Linked DNA regions of Homo sapiens: regions 1 and 3 are each linked to region 2. Evidence: promoter capture Hi-C in 16 types of primary human blood cells and fetal thymus (Javierre and others, 2016). All regions are on one chromosome and are shown on one strand. The core of a region is centred on a gene start or on the middle of the fragment in contact, and the rest is flanking DNA. Distances in the headings are between cores, read along the strand shown. Region 1 overlaps MANEA-DT (MANEA divergent transcript). Region 2 holds the start of KLHL32 (kelch like family member 32). Region 3 overlaps MANEA (mannosidase endo-alpha).

Region 1 (2,700 bases), core at 101-2,600, 1.4 Mb before region 2:
ACGTCCATAGTCGCTTGCTTTGACAGGTGGTGGGGAATGAAGTCTCACGTATAATATGCATCTTCAGCCCAAATCCCATAAAATTAAGGAATATTAAAGAGTGTTTTGTAGAATTTGAACTCAGTATTTTGTTCATCACTTCATCTTATATTTTTGCTGTAAGAGTCCTTGTGAATTTTTTTGACAGTATAATACAGGCACGTTTAAAAAATTTTTGTTTCTCAAGGAAGATTTTTTGAGAACAATCTTTAGACAGTTTTGTTCTGCTACTGTTATTAGAAAAATCAATTCCTTTTTGTATTTTTATCTTTGTTTCTCCTTCTTGAATGAAGAGGGGTCATTTATGGCCTGGTATTTGTCCAAACAGCACATGGGAGAAAACCTTTTCGATGTCTTCATTGCACCCCTGAAATATATTTCAGGTGTACTACACATTACACATTGCACGCACACACACACACACACATATGCGTATGTATGTATATACATACAATATGCCAAGTATATTTTTGGAACATCTCTCTAACGTTTTAAACTGGAAAGGCAATTAGTGTAAGTTTTAATAATCCAGCATTCTAAAAAGAATTAAAAGGAGGGTATGGCATGAGCAGATTTAGTGGAACAATTTAATCTGTGTATGATTTCCTCTCTGTCATTTATAAGGTTACTGTACTAGGGACCAGTTCTCTGTATCTCCTTTTCCATTTGGCCCAGCCTTCAGTCTAGGAATATCATGGTATCCAATTGCCTTTTCAAGGTTAGTGCCCAAGCTTTAGGAAGAATCGGTAGATCAGAGAAAAGTTACCACATGCTGATTTCCTTTTTGAGTAGCTTACTTTCTTGTACATCTCCCAGTGCAGATAATTCCAAAAGCTGCTTATCAGAGAAAGTAAGGGTCTGGCTTGCTCTAGGCTGTGTTTGCCATTGCCTTCATTCCTCCCTACTGAAAATTATGAAGTGCCAGAATTTCTTGTATTTACTTTCTGAAATGTCACACTACTCTTCGGAAGAAGCAATGCATCTTCCTTGATTTGTTTTAAAGTAAATTACTTCAAGTTCAAAGTAGACTGATTAGCCATGGCTCCTACACCATGTAGGCTCACTATTTTCATGTTCCTTTAGACATTTTAGCCTTTAATTACCAGGTAATTAAGAGCATTAGGTAGTCAAAGTGTTTAGGTATACCAGTGTTTAATACATTTATTTGTCTGGAAGTCATTGTCAACAGCTTCTTCTTCTCAAACATTAATTCTTATTAATTTTTAACTGCCTGGAGTCCTTTTTTTTGGCCTAGAATCGTTAATGGAGTTTTTACTCACTTGATTTCAGGTGTACTGTGCTTTCAGCTAAAAATTGATATAGGTATTTCCAAATGTTTCATCGTTACCTGTCTTCTCTTTTCATCTATATTTTCTATATCCAATTTCATCTAGTCTTATGGCTTCAATTCTCTCTACTTTGTGGATGGCTCTCAGATCTCACTCTCTACTTTTGTACTTCCCATAAGCTCTGGTTTACCCATGCAGATGATTTCCTGCTCCTGCTTGAATATTCTGGTAATGCCTTTAGTCAAAGCAATATGCCCAATACTGAGAGCATCATCTTCTACCTTCCCAAATGTCTCTACCTGTTCATTCAGATGTTCATTTGTTCATTTATTCATTGTTGTATTTATCAAATACCTCCTTTGTATCAGGTCCTTTTGCTGGGGGTAATCAGTGAAAGAGGTAGATAAGGTGATTCTCCCGCAGAAGTTTGCACACAATTAAGAGACACACATGCATATAAGTAAGCAGACAAATACCATGCAACATGATAAGGCCAAGATATAATGAGTTTGGGACAGGATGAAAGAACAAAATGGGGAACCTAGTCTTAACTTGGGTGTCAGAAAAATTTCTTAAAAGGAGTAATGTCTAAGTTGAGCACTAAAGCTTGAATGGTAATTAGCCATGTAAAGGGGAGAAGGAGAGAACAGTAGTGTGGGTGTAAGAACAAACATGGCACACAAATAAGTCTAGAAACAGAAAATTGTTCATGACAGCTAAAGTGAAGGGAGTATGGAGTAGTGAGTTTTGAGAGTGAAAGGGCTCACCAGCCAAATCCATAAGGGTTCTATATGTTGTGTTATAGAATTTGGACTTTATCCTGAGAGACAGAGAAAGTACTGGAAGGTTATAAGGACAGGAATCACATGATCAATTTGATTTTTAGAAAGATCATTCTGACTGCAGTGTGGAGGTCGTATTGAAAGGCCAAAGGCAGGTGAAAGATCAATCAGAATGAGAGATCTTAAATGAAAGATAATAAAACATTTCATTGGAGTGGTGATATTAGAAATAGAGAAAAGTTAAATAGGGAAAGAAATAGAGAAAAGTTAAATATATTTTGAAAGATTTGTATTTTCTCTGAGGGGAAAAAAGAGGCCAAAAATTATGGCTTGATCTATAAGATCTATAATGATGTCTTGATCTATAAGATGTATAAGGATACTTTCCACTGAGATATGGACCAGAAGAGCACAAAGTGGTTATTGAAGGCATGAAAATGAAAAGAGACTTCCAACAGTGAGTATGTGTCATATGAGAGAGCGCCTAGACAGAAGAGAGTCTATTTAAGATCTAGACCAAGAAAGAGAAGTCTACAGGGGAATTGTGGAGTTTAAGAAAAGTAAGAGAAATAATATTAGGACCCAATATA
Region 2 (2,700 bases), core at 24-2,523:
TGTGTCCAGGACTGCTAGATAAGTAGGTACCCAGCATCCTAGCGTCCAGATATCAAAACCATGAAAATGAAGCACTACAAGCCAGACAGATAACCTCCAGAGGGAGCAAACGAATAAACCCCCAAATCCTGTGGATCTAGAAGTAGAAAATAATCGCTGAACCACTGATTTGAGACCAATGAGAACATTAAGGACACCTCAAAATAGATCAGGGCACTGTTCCTAGCCCAACTCTGTGGCAGAACATAAACCTGCAAGAAATAGGATTAACATACTATCTTTGCAGTAAGTTAAATCCTGAACTTCTACAAAATACAGTTTACTCCAATTTAGTTACACTCTTCCTGCTTCTGGTGTCTTACCTCCACGTTGGACTAAGGTTTTCAATTCGGTGGTGGAATACTTACCTATTAAAATTACCCACTTTGCTTTAGTGTGAGTTTCTCAGCATGTTTTACACAGGAGTGACCTGAATGACTCGGAAGTGGCACTTGAGTGTGCCAGGCCCTGGAATTTAATGGTATGGTTCTGTGGTTGTTGTCTGTTTGCGGTTTTATTGCTGAATTAGTAGTAACCACAGTAATCACACCCTTTCTCATTTCTCAGGCTTGGGGATTTCGTCCACCTCTGGCGGGTTGGTTCCCCTGACGTTTCTTAAAGTTACTGTGAATTTGTTCTGGTCAGTACCATAGAGTGTATTATCCTAAGGAGGGCCACTGTAGGGCCGCTAGGACTAGAGGCAACTTGAACTTCACAAGTTAGCAGAGCAAGGACTCCCTGGAACACCGAGTTAGGGCCACGGGGTCTGTTTGCTCAGATTGCCCGCCAGCCCTGGGAAAGGAGTCTGGGGGCGAGCAGGCTGGGTTCCCGGGTCTCAGTCGCCGCAGTGGTGGCTACAGACTGCGCATGTGACCCAGGGGCCGGCGACGCAGGTGCCGGAGAGCGAGGAGGAGGGCGGCGTGGAGGAGGGTACTTCCGGGACCGGCGGGCGCGCGCTGGCAGCTCGCCGACGGCGGGGGCGGGGGCGGGGGGCGGCAGGGGAGCGAGCGCGCTGGCGGCGGGCGGTGGCGTTGCGCGCGGGGTGGCGAAAGGATGTGCGCGGGATCGCGGGGGAGGGGGAGGGAGCGCGCGGGCTAGCTGGAGGCGGGAGGGGGCGGAGCCCTGTGGCGTCTGAACCCGCCCCGGGGGTGCCAAGGTGCGTCTCCAGTCTGACGCGACCGCCTGGGGCGGAGTCAGCGGGACGTGCCACCTGCAGTGCTGGCTAGGGCTTTTTATTTACTAGGGAGCAGTTTCCCCGCGCGACAGTTCGGGAGCGCGCAGGCAGTCGCGCGCACACACGCACGCAGGCACACACACACACACACACACACACACACACACACTTTCGCACACACAAACACGCTAGGACGCTCGTCTTCGCTACTGCATCCCCGAACCAGCAGAGCGAAGCTACTGCGGGTTCTGTTAACCTCAGCATCGTGGGGCGAAGCAGAGCCATTGTGCATCAAGGAGAGGCCGGTGCCTGCGCTGCCGTCTCTGGCACCTAACCCAGCAGACCGCTCACCCCATCGGGTAAGCCAGTCTCTCTCCTTGTAACCTGTTCTGCAGACCTGAGGAAGAGGGTGGGAGGCTGCTGGTGCGCCAAGTGGGGGCAGACCCGGAGTTGACATTTCAGGGGCTTGCAGCCCATGCAGCCTCTGCCCGTGTCGTCTAACGGGAGCAGCCACTACTCAGGTTACTTATGCTGCCAGCCCTGGAGTCGCTCCCCCTTTCTTCCCTCCCCCTGAGCCCAATATGTACTGTGCTCCTTGGTTGCCAAGGAGACTTGCTTAAACATCAGCCGTGGGACATCTATTGAAAGAACTGGTTTCTTAAATGATGCCGTTATTTATTTTGATATTTAAAATAAAATATACACTGAGGACCTTTCGTAATTTGGCATTTGTTAATCTGTATTCAGGTGGCGGTTTCATTCAACTTCAAGAAAAGCCGTAATTGCACTATATGGTATGCTTTAAAAAGGATTCGTCAGATGAATTTTTCAACGGATTGTGTCTTGAATCATAATTTACTCCCATTTTGGTGATCTTATAAAGAAAGATGACTGCAGTTTAGATCCCTTCTTCCCCTCTATTTCCAGTTTTATTTTGCAGTTCACTTAGTCGTGATTATTTTAAATTAAAAGCAGATGATTTAATTGTGTTTCCCCACACAAGAATGAGCTTCTATTGTAAATTGACCAGAACAGGAATACGTTTGTGAATTCGTAACGTAAGAAGGTAGCATTCATGACATACATCTTTGCTAGCATTTTTATATCCCCTGCATCAGTATTGAAGCGCAGTTTTTTGCACCTCTGCTCATTTCTGAGAAGATTCTGTTTTTTAAAAAATCTCTTATTGATTATTTTTAGATCTATCTCTATACACAGATAGAGATAGATATAAAATGTGTGCCATGGCTTACTAGAGCTTATATGAAAGTGCAGTGGTTTTTGCTTTTTGTTTTTTTTCTGATGGGACTGGGTCCTCTACTGGAACACTGATAGGCCAATGGAACAGGTCAGCCTAATACCTGGGCTGTCAGTTTTGTTTTATTTTGAGGTCTCGGGTGTCTATTGGGTGAACTTGTAACACAGTACTTGAAGGCATCAGCAATCCAGTAATTACACTTTGCACGAATTTCATGCCTCCATCACAA
Region 3 (2,700 bases), core at 145-2,644, 1.3 Mb before region 2:
TATATAAATAATATATGTGGTAAATATAAATTTTAAATAGAAATATATGTGTTACACTATTTTTGGTATAGTTTGTGATCAGGAAGAAAAGTTTCAGTAAACATTTTTATGCCTATTCATATTTATAAAGACCTTTTTCCCTGTATAATATTTTAGTATTGTATCATGTATATGAACATTAATTATTTCTAAACATTGACAGTAATACAGTCATTTCAATTTTAAATGTTGACAGCTTCACTACGGATGCAAATATTTTACTTTTTGATGGATTTTCTCCTAGACAAAATTAAAAAATAAACTTGATAATAAAAGTGACATAATCAATTTATAAATAAAGAAATAATTTCTTAATGAGTTAAATATTGAATTATACTCATTGTTACCAGGCAGAAAATAATTTGACTGTTGGAATACTGACTCAAAACCCTAATTTAATCCATGGAGCTGGCATGCTGACTCAGGCATTCTTTGGATTGAAGAAGATAGTAAATGAAGGCTGTTTAAATTGTTGTATGGTTGACTGTGCTTTGACTACATATTTAACATTCATATTTTTCCTTTGATATAAATGGCCTTCTTTTTATCTTAAGTTGAATTGCTGTGTGAAGTAATTATGCTGTTATATCGCAGAGTACAAGTTGGTTGATTTTCTGCTTTTACAATTAAGTGTGGTTGGCATAAATCCTAATGGCTCAACCCTTCATTGAAAAGAATGATAAAATTAAAATGAACTATTAATGTTATGTTTAAAATCCAATTATTATATATAATGTATCAGATATATTACAATGGCATATGGTAGATTTGTATCCTTTTCAAGTCTTTTAAGTAAAATATTACGTATCATGTATTCTATCCTCTTGTATTGCTGTATTACAACTCTAAAAGTAACAGATGAATGCCTTCTTTTTTTTATACAGTTTACTAAAACTTTAGTAGACTGGTCAGAAAATAGCCCCCATTTTCTGATGTGGACATCGTAATTCCCACAATCTGTGAATATATTATTTTATTTGGCAAAAGGGGAATTAGGGTTGCAGGTGCAAAAGATTGCTAATCATCTGAACTTGAGATGGCATTATCCTTCATTATTTGGGTACAGCTAATCTAGTCACATAAGTCCTTATAAATAGAAGAAGAGGGAAAAGAGAGTCAGAGGGATGCACGAGAGACTCGACCCCCTGTTGCTATCTTTGAAGATGGAACAAGAAGTTCATGAGCCAAAGAATGTGGTAGCCTCTACAAGCTTGAATGGCAAGGAAAGGGATTCTTTCCTAGAGCCTCCAGAAAGGAATGTCATCCAGTCCAATACCTGGCCTTGATCTTAGCATATTAAGACCCATGTCAACACTCCTGACATGCAAAACTGTAAGGTAATAAATTTACGTTGTTTTAAGCAACTAAATTTGTGATAGTTTGTTATGGCAAAATAGAGAACTGCTACATTTAGCAAAACATAATGTACTCTATGACTTTAAAATTATCTTCCCATTGTTTCAGTTTAGCACTAAATATTTATTGATTTTCCATGACGTTCCAAGCTTGTGCTAGATTCTAGGGACATAAAAATGAGCAAGTCACATTTCCCAGTTCCTTTGTTTTCATCATTGTTGCTTTAAAAACACTGGATGGATTTCAACATTAGAATATTTCCTGAAAGTATGACATATTTGTTTTAGTAAGGTTACAATTCTTACTTCTGCATCTCCTGCCTTTAAAAATTTATACATAAAAGTAGAAGTCACAATGAGATGAATTAGACACATAAAGTTTAAATGTACCTAATAACATCTAATATGATGTCATAAAATTTCCTTTTATAATAACTATTTGCATTAAGTTTAAAGGTTATATTTATAACTGTAGAGTGGTGATATTCCATAAAGCTTTCATATTGCTATAGATGCCCAACCTTTGGCTACAAAAAAAATTTGAAAGTATTCATTGCAAGGAGACAGTCTACTTGCAAATAATATATACTTAATGTGTAATGTAAGGTCTTCACCACTGATATTCCCTATGTTTCCCTCCCATAGTTTGCTATTGTCGTAATTCTGTCACATAAGAAATGGTATTTTACTATCATTGCTGTAGGCCAGAGGTTGGCAAGCATTTTCTGTAAAGGACTGCCTAATATATATTTTTGATTTTGTGAGTCCCTCACTCTCTCTCTTTGCAACCACTCAGCTCTATCCTTATAGTGTGAAAATGGTTATAAGCAATAGATAGACAAATATATAGATGAATTGGCCTGTAAAAGGCAAGATTTGGCCGATGGGTCATAGTTTGCTGATCACTCTTTTCAATAATCAGTTGTTTTTCACAGTGATTAAAAGTAAGAATGTTTTTTACATTTATTCCATTTCTACTGTTCCCCATCCATATTTTAATGTAGATCCAAGTGTATGTCTAATATCATATTCTTTCTCTCTTAAAAATTTCTTTTATCTTGTTTTACTGGTCTCCTTGCAATGAATATTTTCAAATTTTGTTTGTAGCCTTTATTTTGAAAGATGTTTCATCACCTATGGAATTCTCAATGGGCAGGTTTTAGGGGATTGTTTTCTTTTGGAATTTTGAAAATGTATTCCATTTCTTTTTTTCTTCTTTTTCTTCAGTCTTTCATGGTTTCTGATGAGTAGTCTGCCGTAATTTAAAAAAATCTTTTTATATCCTCATTTTCTTGGATGGATATGT

What was found. The method cuts DNA at HindIII sites, captures the fragments that hold promoters and counts their contacts. A CHiCAGO score of 5 or more calls a contact.
Region 1: a contact is called between a fragment that was not itself captured here and the fragment with the promoter of KLHL32 in region 2, in 8 of 17 cell types (total CD4 T cells, non-activated CD4 T cells, naive CD8 T cells and 5 more). The highest score is 10.8, in total CD4 T cells.
Region 3: a contact is called between a fragment that was not itself captured here and the fragment with the promoter of KLHL32 in region 2, in 8 of 17 cell types (total B cells, total CD4 T cells, naive CD8 T cells and 5 more). The highest score is 14.7, in total B cells.

What each region holds. Positions count from the first base shown.
Region 1 is chr6:95,561,788-95,564,487 of GRCh38, forward strand. All of the region lies in intron 2 of MANEA-DT (MANEA divergent transcript), which reads right to left. Among named protein-coding and RNA genes, the nearest start is that of MANEA-DT, 14 kb to the right of the region's middle. RefSeq lists a silencer at 706-1,000. The HindIII fragment of the contact is 1,164 bases long and covers 769-1,932 here.
Region 2 is chr6:96,923,455-96,926,154 of GRCh38, forward strand. KLHL32 (kelch like family member 32) reads left to right here and starts at 1,274. Exons shown (of 11, transcript NM_052904.4): 1 at 1,274-1,572. RefSeq lists a silencer at 1,001-1,310. The HindIII fragment of the contact is 7,655 bases long and covers 1-2,700 here.
Region 3 is chr6:95,588,798-95,591,497 of GRCh38, forward strand. All of the region lies in intron 2 of MANEA (mannosidase endo-alpha), which reads left to right. Among named protein-coding and RNA genes, the nearest start is that of MANEA, 13 kb to the left of the region's middle. The HindIII fragment of the contact is 295 bases long and covers 1,248-1,542 here.